Regions from separate parts of the Homo sapiens genome. Here region 1 is linked to region 2. The links are contacts of gene promoters, found by promoter capture Hi-C in human tissues and cell types (Jung and others, 2019). All regions are on one chromosome and are shown on one strand. Each heading gives the region's core, a stretch centred on a gene start or on the middle of the fragment in contact. The rest is flanking DNA. Distances are from core to core; before and after follow the strand shown.

The links. Contacts are between HindIII fragments. The study calls those that stand out against the background at their distance.
Region 1: a contact is called between a fragment that was not itself captured here and the fragment with the promoter of FERD3L in region 2, in 2 of the 25 tissues and cell types used here (H1 embryonic stem cells and mesenchymal stem cells).

What each region holds. Positions count from the first base shown.
Region 1 is chr7:19,402,497-19,407,307 of GRCh38, forward strand. It overlaps LOC105375179 (a long non-coding RNA gene), which reads left to right. Exons shown (of 6, transcript XR_007060244.1): 5 at 1,205-1,267; 6 at 2,836-3,407. Among named protein-coding and RNA genes, the nearest start is that of FERD3L, 260 kb to the left of the region's middle. The HindIII fragment of the contact is 4,859 bases long and covers 703-4,811 here.
Region 2 is chr7:19,143,955-19,149,222 of GRCh38, forward strand. It overlaps FERD3L (Fer3 like bHLH transcription factor), which reads right to left and starts at 1,467. Exons shown (of 1, transcript NM_152898.2): 1 at 828-1,467. The coding sequence starts at 1,408. The coding sequence ends at 908. RefSeq lists enhancers at 200-1,399, 1,865-2,513. The HindIII fragment of the contact is 11,409 bases long and covers 1-5,268 here.

The DNA of each region.
Region 1 (4,811 bases), core at 1,882-4,381, 260 kb after region 2:
TTATTATTTTTGTAATGAGAAGTACAGGTTAGGGACTTCCCCCCATCAAGAAAATAATGTTTACATGTAAGAAAAAGGAAAGGACAGACAAGATTGGTCATATCTGGTTTTGCATTTAAAAATCCAATCCTTGATGGCTTAAAAAATAAAATTTCAGGTGGTCTTATTTTTTAACTCAACAAAGTTCCAGTTGTTATACAACTCGTCTTATTAATTTATTGTTGGGTTCTGCAAAAGCTTCTCCATTTTGCCAGTCTTCCAAAGTATTGGTTGATGTGGCTAGCAGTCTTTCAGAAAACACCAGGATTAACAGGGTATTTGCACACCTGCAAAGCTCATTTAATGACTGAAATTGCAAATGCTGCACAAGTAAAACAAAAAAAATGTATATTTTAAGTTATTTTAGTGACCACAGCTATATAACATTATTCATAAAACCAAACATGCATGTCTATATATTATGTATTTCAAGATGTAGTTCTGATTGATTATTATCCCATGTCAAATATTTTGATTTGCTGGAAGAAATGACAAAAATCCTTAAGAAAAATGGGCAAATTTATAAGGAAATACCTAAACAGCAAAAGCATTAAGCAAAGACCCTACTAATCTTGGGAGTCCTAAAGTCAAGGAACAAATGAAAGCAGACAAGAATCAAGAACAACAAGGCGGGTTATTTTTCTAAGGACTTGCATTTTGATGCATTACCATGCATACTTAGACTACACAAATTAACTTCCCTGGGAGGTATTCTCTGGATGCTCACCCACTTTTCAGATGTGTGCATTTTTTTTCAAACTGGCATTTGATTGTTAAGTTTTCCTCAAGAGATTCTCATTTTGATGATTTCTAGTTTTCTTGAAAATGCTCTTTTTTCATAAAATCATTTTAACTGAGGGCTGAGCTTTCACCCTGACTTAGTATGGTGACCTGAGGTTGAGAGGGATTATATATTCAGGACTGAAATTATAACCTGAGCAATAAATATCATATAGAAATTCTACCCACGTTTCACTTCTAAAGCTCGTAGCAGACTTATCTAATTGATTAGGGAACTAGACATAGCTTGAGAATCTTCCACAAGTCCTTGTTCAAGGCAGCCACCATTAAGTTCTTGGTTCAAATGATGAAATCTATTTGGCATTCCACATTAGATTTATATTCTAAGCTTTAATATCTACTCTTTCTCTTCTCTTCATTGGAGATGATAACATTTACTTACTGCTTCACTGACATAAGAACCAGCCCTCGAGAAGAATATACAGAGGTATAGTGCAACTTTTTCTTCTAAAGCTATTGAACTATGGTAAACATCCTATGACTAAAAGAGACTTTAACAGAATTTCCCTAAGAGATTATAATCTTTTATTTATTTATTTTTTGAGATAGGGGCTTGCTGTGTCATCTAGGCTAGAGTGCAGTGCAGTAGCACAATCTTGGCTCACTGCAGCTTTGACTTCCCGGGCTCAAGCAGTCCTCCCACTTTAGCCTCCCAAGTAGCTAGGACCACATGTGCTTGCCACCAGGCCCAGCTAATTTTTATATTTTTTGTAGAGACAGGGTTTCCTCATGTTTCCCAGACTGGTCTTGAACCCTGGTCTCAATCCTGCCTGCGTCAGCCTCCTAAAATGCTGGGATTACAGGCATGAGCCACCACGCCTGGCCTATAATCTGTTTTATTTCTAAGTCACCGTTGCTCATCCTACGTTCATTCTTACAAAATGAGTTAACTATATTATTGAGTTAATCCAAAATGGAATTTTTTTATTTTTTATTTTTTTTTTTGAGATGGAGTCTCGCTCTGTTGCCCAGGCTGGAGTGCAGTGGCACCATCTCGGCTCACTGCAAGCTCTGCCTCCTGGGTTCATGCCATTCACCTGCGTCAGCCTCCCGAGTAGCTGGGATTACAGGCGTCCACCGCCAAGCCCAGCTAATTTTTTCTTTTTTTTTTTTAGTAGAGACGGGGTTTCACCGTGTTAGCCAGGATGCTCTCGATCTCCTGACCTCCTGATCCGCCCGCCTCGGCCTCCCAAAGTGCTAGGATTACAGGCGTGAGCCACCGTGCCCAGCCCAAAATGGAAATTTTTAGGAAGTTAGGTTTTGCTTGTGAAAGTGATCATACGCTGTCCTACCACTATCATTTTACTGTGGGTGCAGGAAAAGAAGAAATAAGATTTGCTCCTTAATAGATAAGCTTGGTGTTATTGACTTTAAAATGAAAATTATCCTTAAAAACCTTAAAAATCACAGCTTGCTAAATATTAGTAACTAATGCACTCACTGCTCTCTTTATATATATTTTTCAAAATGTAAAGAATTTGCTACTTAACTTTCAGCTTTATTTGAAAACTAATTTTCAACTCAGAAAACCTGTGGGTTTTGTACATTTTCAGTATAAGAGAATGGGTACTAAGTTACAGTTAGAGGCTTTAAATAAGTGGAGATTCCCATTTTGAGTGGGTGTGAGGGCACATCTGCAAATTGTAGTCCTGATTCAACTTCAGTCTGTGTTTTCCTCAGTGTGACTCATTCAGTCATCACCCAGGCTGTGTGATTACTGACTCCGAAGTATGTGAAACACTCAAACAGTTGGGATTCCTTTTGGAGCATATACAAACAACTTAAATCTTCCAATTCAGATTATGTGGTTGGGCTTAAGACCGTTATGAAGGCGGGGAGGAAAAACCTGAAGGCTGTTTGTGGCTACAGGGTGTGGTGTTGTGGGGTTGGTGGCAGAGATCTGTGGTGTTAGTTAATACAGGAAGATACTCAAGTTACATTCAGTGTAACATACCAAACTTGCAAATTCTGTCTCCCTCCCTCTCTTTCTTTCAGGAGTAGTTGCCAGCAACCTTCCTGCCAACTTGGCCCAAGGTAGGTTACTTTAGGTACACTAGAAAACCAATTTCTCTGCAGTTTTTCATCCTTATCAAACTCACCTAAAGTCTAAAGAAAAACTCTTTCTGATTATAGATATTTGTTTCAATCAGTTTTATAGGAACGGCAGTCTCTGCTCATCTCTCCTTCCTGAAATTCTAGAACTCTTTAAACACAATTGCCACAAAATTGCCATGGAAGGAAACCTTTCATCACTTTTTAAATTATTGTCTCCATTTTTCAATTCTTTGGATGTTAAAAATTGGGATATAATTTGCATACCATGATATTCACTGTTTTAAAGTGTACATGTCAGTGGTTTTTAGCTTTTATTCACAGAGTTGTGCAACCATTATCATTATCTCATTCCAGAACATGTTCGTCACCCAGAAAAGAAACCCCATACCCGTTAGCCATCACTTCCCATTCTTCCCTCTTTCTAGCTCCTGGCAACTCCTAATCTATTTTCTGTCTTTATGGATATGCCTATTCTGGACATTTCATATAATTGGAAATAAAATGTGTGGCCATTTGTGACTGGCTTCTTTCACTAGGCATAATATTTTCAAGATTCATCTATGGGTGAATAATTTTCTATTTTATGGATATACCACATTTTATTTATCCATTTATTGTTTGATGGACATCTGATCAGGAAATGAATTCCTTCCTCTTTTCTTCTTTTCTTATTTCTCTCATTTTGCTTCATATTATTCCAGTTTTTGTTAACTTTGTGATATTTGTTACAGGTTATTTGATTCCACATATGGAAAATCCTAGTCTTGCTTTCTGAACTAAAGCTCTCAAACTTTAATGTGCATACAACCACATAGGGCTCTTTTTAAAATGCAGACTCTTTAATAAGACAGGATGTGAAGCCTGTGATTCTGCATTTCTAATGAGTTCCCAGGTAAAGCTGATCCTGTTGATTTGTATATTACCCCTTGGACATCAAGGATTCCAACTATGCATTCCACTGAAGGAAAATGTTCTAATTATCATTGTTAATGCCAGGCACCCTTGTAGATGTTTTCACAAATTTTAAGTTTATCTGAATATTTTATTAATAGCTATTGAATACCTGACAGAGACCGTATAGCCCACAACGCCTAATATGTGGACTATTGAGCCCTTTATAAAAAAATTTGCTGACCCATGGTTTAAAGACATACTATATTGTGAAACAATTTAAATCAATCTACGTAGGCAAATCTATGTACAGCTTAAGAAATTAGGGATTAGAACTGGAGTAATTTAGCACTGTTGATGATCAAGAACATTTCATATGTATCACTTTTTCATGATGATACAACTGAAAAATAAAAGTGAAGTCAATATTTTTAACCATTTGAACGTGTAAAGTTTGGCTTGAATCCAACTCTGTAAATTCTGTGGATGTACCCAAGCAGCTGAAGGAGGCTGGAAAATAAAGACAAAAATAGTCACACTTTAATTTTATGATTAGCAAACTCAGCTGGACTGTTAATGAAGTATAGCAATTATTTCCCTAACCCATTTCCATCCCTACCCTTCTAGATGACTCTCCATGCTTTTTCTTCTCCATCCAAACCCCCAACACCTCATCTCCCATTCTCAATCTTAACTGATGACCCCTTCCTTTCTACTAAGGAAATAAAATCTATCAGAAGAGAATTTCCATTTGTTCCACCACTACGTCCTTCTCCACCTGCATCTTGGCCTCTACTCTGGTTTTCCTATTTCACTAGATAAATTGTGCTCTTGACAAAGGCCAAATCTATCACTTGTGCACTATATCCCAACCTCTCTGACTTACTCCGGAACATCGTGACAGCATTTCTGTTTTGCTCCTGTATCATCAAGTTTAGCTTTTCTACTAGATTTTTTCTATCAGCATACTAACATGTTTTTTTTTTTTTGTCTTAAAAAAAACTAAAATTTCCTGACACATCCCT
Region 2 (5,268 bases), core at 217-2,716:
CCGAGTGCACTCGCCCCTTACTCTGGCCTGGGGCCTGAAGAAGGCACTGGAACACGGAAGCTGATGCTGCACTTTAGATGCAAAGCGTAGATTTGCACTCTGGCTAAGGCACTGAATGAACACCACTGTGGCCCTGGGACAAGGAGCTGTGGTCCGTCTGGGATCAACTAGGTGGCGAAGGGGAGGGAGAAAGGAAGAGAGAGGGCTTGCGCGCGGGAGAGAGGAAGGGACGGGAGGGAGAGGGAATGGAAGACAGGAAGGGTGTCCCTTCTCAGAGGTCGCACTTTGTCAGCAGTTCCTCTCGACTGCTCTGCCTTCCATTTTTCCTTTCCTCAGTTCCTGGACAAGCCTCGGAGGACCAGGCAGAACCCTCTGGCTAGCAGAAAAGCTCGCACCCCCGCACCCTTGCGGCGTCTGCTTCAGACCCTCCACGCAGGCGCCCGCTGGAGCGCCTGCTGGGGATGGCGTACCACCGACCCTTCAGGCTTTTTAAAAACGTAAGAATTTCTACTTTATTATCTCTATGAAAAAAAAAATGTAAAGAAGAGAGGTTAGATTTTATAGAAGCTCCAAAGTCTGCCATTTGCGAGGAGGGTTCACTTCCCACCCACCCAGCCCACGGAAGCTCTTAGGAGCAGCCTGAACGGCCCCGACTCAGCCTCACGCTCTCTGACTTCCCCGCTCGCCCCTGACCCCGACTTCACTTAGGGCGGTCGCGTAGATATGAACTCTACAGCAGCCACTCTGCTCAGCGCATGTGGGGATCTTACAATCTCGACCCCGACCTCCAGAAGACCAGACGTTCTGTCTTGGGGCCTCCCTCCCGGCCCTTTAGCCTCACCCAGTGCCCGGTCCTGACACACCCCAGCACTACCAGACGAGGAAGGGCAGACTCTCCACACCAGGCTCAGCCGCTTTCCTTCTTCTCACAGCTCTCCAAGAGCTCGGTCATGAAGGAGATATAGACGATGGCCAGGCGGAGGGTCTCGATCCGGGACAGCCTTTTCTCGTAAGCAAACGTGGGCACCTTCCTCCGCAGCTGGTCAAAGGCCTCGTTGAGGTTGAACATCCGCTTCCTTTCGCGGATGTTGGCGGCCTGGCGCTGGGCGTAGGTGATCACCCTTTTCCTCTTGGGGCGGCCTAATAGGGAGACACCTCTTCCGCGCTCCTCTTCCTCCTCCTCTTCTCCGTCCCCCTGGTCCACTTCGCACTCCTCTTCTTCTGGGTCCCCCTCTTCAAACCGCGCCATCCTCCTGGGTCTTCCCTCTCGGAGCGCAAGGGCTGGGTCCCCCAAGGAGACCCCGGGTGCGAAGTCGCAGAGGAGAGGGCGTCTCGGGGAGGCCAGGGACAGGTCTGCGACGAAGTCCAGCACCGTAGTGTCCACGCAGCTCTCCGGATAGGCCGCCATCGCTTCGGCTTGGCCCTGCCTCTCATCGGTTTTCCGCAGGGAGGGGCGAGGTTGCTGGTGGGGATTCTTAACAGCCTTGAATCTGATGGGGCACCATCACCGAAAGGCCAGGGAACATTAAATATTTATAACCAAGCTGATAACAGGATTAGTCGCACCGATAAGGAATGCTCTGACAACGTCCCTTCTCTCGAAGCTTATGGAAGATGACAAGCTTGAGCACGCATGGAAGACTCAAAGGGACAGGGCTCCAGTTCTGAGATCCTTTTCTCTGCGCCACCCGGGACAGTTCCTTGTTGGCAACAACCCCCAGCTCTTACCTGCTGTGCTTTTTGTGTCTGTCTTCACCCCTGCAGCCAACTAATGTTCTCCAGGCTCCTTATCTCGTGTAGTTCTTTAATTTCGTGTTGGATTTTCAAAGCGAGGATGTTTTCCACCGCGATGGCTTCTCCTTGACTTCAGGGTAGGAGTCTTGAATCTTGCCACCATCTGCCAATGGATGTGGAGCAAGTGCATGTGCTTTTAATGATGTCCTGAAGAGGGGCCCTGCCTGCCTGGCATCAAGGGGAGCTGTTTGTCTGGTATCCCAGTGCAGCGGCTGCTGAAAGGCAAGACCTTCAATTAGCTTAAGTAAGCATGGCAGGGGGACCGAGAGTGCATTCCCCAGAGTCGCTGTTGGAACCGGCTTTCTTTTCTTTCCAGGGCATCGCAAACAGCTCTCCTGCCACGTTACAAACCCTGACTTCTAAAGTCTGTTTGGATGCAATCAGCGTAACAATTGAGATACTTGACTTTCCTTTCCCTACCTTTACCTCCTACTCATATAAAATAGAGGATTTTATTCCAAGAGGAAAAGTTATGATGGCAATAAAATGAGAAATTTAAGCTCAGGATATTTTCTATGCTCGGGCTTTGCTGTATACTTTTCAGTGTGGGGGACAAAGCAAACTCTCCTCACAAACAAAACCACTTCAAGCTCTTTTCAGAAATGCGATTTGCCCTTGATAAGCCAAAGAGTCAATCAGCTCACCCTCTGCTGAGGAGTCTTCGGACTTTTAAATTGCGGATCGAGTATTTGTTCCCGAACAAAGAAAAAAACCTAACACTTCCATCTGGCGTATTTTCCTCATTGATTTGTATTGTCCTACAGTAAGACTTAAGTGCAGAAACAATGATTTATTGAAATATATTTAAGGGAGTTTTTGGCTATCGTTAGATCGTTATTTTTGAGAAAAGAAAGAGATTTTAAATTTGGCATAAGAAAAATAAGAGATTACTCATTTTATATTATCTCGAGTATCCCAAATATTTTAACAAAAAGGTTCTTTTTCTTTGTTTGCCAATAACTATATTTACTTAATTATTCAGTACTGTGTAAAGATTTATTTAAAAGACCCATTGTGTCAAAGTGACAGATTAGAAGATAATTTTAAAGGTAGATTGGAAGAAATAGCCTAAAAAGATGAATGTAGAAACATCCCGGTTCAAAAGAGAACTGCCCAGGACGTCAGTCCCTATTAAGGGGGTAAGTTGTGGTTATGATGGTTCACTCAGTACATTGGACAGCTCCCAGAAACCAGAAACCGCCTATTTCTAACAGGTAATCTCAATTCATTTTCTTCTTCCTAGCCTCTATGTGTGTAATCAAAACAGTATAACCTTTAATTCTTCTTCTTCTTTTAACCCATTTGTGTCTGGTGTCTCTCGATCTTTTAATAGATTTTATCTTCTTTTGCTTGTGTTTACTCTTCATTCTCCAGTTTGAATTGTGATAACTCAGGCAGAGAATAATTGAAATTTGTGATCCTGGAAGATGTTAAAGAGAATGAGATCTTTGGTTGTTACTTAGTTGATTTTTGCTAAGCATCTTTCAAAGGGAAGGCTGAAAAATAAATAATAGGATTGTCAACAGTGGCTATGAAGCTAGTAAATGGGAGAACTGATTTTTGTTTCAAAAAAGTAGTAACATGCTTGCTAACCCTCGTTTAAATTAATATGTTATTAAATATTTGGACAAATTTCTTGTTGATTTTTAAATTATGTTAAATGCTTCTCAGTGACTTATTTTGTATTCATTTACAATCTATTTGCAAGTGGATTAAACACCTCAGTCAATTGAGAATCTAGTTTCGCAATATAATACACTGGAAAACAATGAAGGAAAACATGGTTGATATTTAAATTTAAAATTTCATAAAATGGGGGTCAGAAGCCTTCATGAGACTAAAGAGATAGTTTCATTGGACTGAACTCCTTTATGATTTTAGCCAAGGCAATGTACCTTTCTTGCTTGCCTTCCTTCCTTCCTTCCTTCCTTCTTTCTTTCCTTCCTTCCTCTCTCCCTCCCTCCCCCTTACTCCTTTTTCTTTCTTTCTTTCTTTCTTTCTTTCTTTCTTTCTTTCTTTCTTTCTTTCTTTCTTTCTTTCTTTCTTTTTCTTTCTTTCTTCTTTCTTTCTCTTTCTTTCTTTCTTTCTTCTTTCTCTCTTTCTTTCTTTCTTTCTTTTTCTTTCCTCCTTCTCTCTTTCAACAGAGCCTCACTCAGTCATCGAGGCTGGAGCGCAGTGCTACAATCATAGCTTACTGTGCCTCAAACTCCTGGGCCCAAGCAACTCTCCTGCCTCAGCCTCCCGAGTACCTAGGACTGCAGGCACTGGCCACCTCATCAAGCTAAAGGTTTTGTTCTTTAGAGAGGAGGTCTAACTATTTTGCTCAGGCCTCAACCAGTCCTCTCACCTTGACCTCCCAAAGTGCTGAGATTACTGGCCTGAGCCACTGCAGCTGGCAGAGAATGGAGATTTCAATAATCATATCACAAAAGGAACTGTAGCAAAAGTAATGGAACCAGTGCCTAGAACTGGGTTGAAATACTTGTATTAAAGTATTAGGAATTTTTTAAATGTCCTAATAGGTACACCTACAGCAATTATTTTAAAATATTTTCTTTTTTATTTCATCATAAAAATCCCAGGATAAACACTTCTGTTTATACCACCTTAATTTCTGTTTATCTTACAAGGTTATAATCATGCTAATATAATTAAAGCAAAAAATGTTAAAATCTAAGTTATGAGTGTTTTTATTTATAATTATAATTAGTTATATAAATTAACAGTTACAGTTATTTCATTTATAATTATAATTAATTATAGGAATAACTGAAATTCTTTTTCTCTGCTTATTGTGAAATGGTCATTTTATTTTTAGAAGACTTTTGTGGGTATTTGGTTCCACAGTAAATATATATGGCAAAAGCAGTAAATTTATAAAGTACCAAGTGATGTTACAGTTCATCCTATTGGAAGGAATCATTATTTTCATTTCTAGATTTGAAAGTTAAGAGAGAGATGTTTTTTAAAAACTCAATTGAGGATTAAAAGAAGCTAAGTTCAACCTTGATTCCTCTGTGTTCTAGGCCTATAGTTTACAGTTATTCAGTGACCTATAGGGAGGCATTTATAAAAAGTTTGATAACTCCTCACAAATTTTACTCAAAATATTTCAAGAAATGATTATGAAATGACAATCAGTTTTGCTTATTTGATTATCTAGTTTATTTCTATTGACCATTCCTATTAGACATAAAACATTTTGTTTATACTATTAAACTGTTCAGAATCAAAGCAAAAAGAAAAAAAAATGACCAAGAATAACTTAAGCAGTAATTCTTGAATGAGCTGAAGCCTGGGTTTAATGGTGCAAAGGGGAGAAAGGTAGATAAATAAAGCATCCAGGGAGTAAAGCAAATATATAAATCCCCCCAATTAAAAAAACCCTACCTTTCCTTCCTCATGTCCCTTCCTCTTTTATTCCAGAAACATTAACTTTTAGGGCAAATGATAAAGATATGACGAAGCTAGATG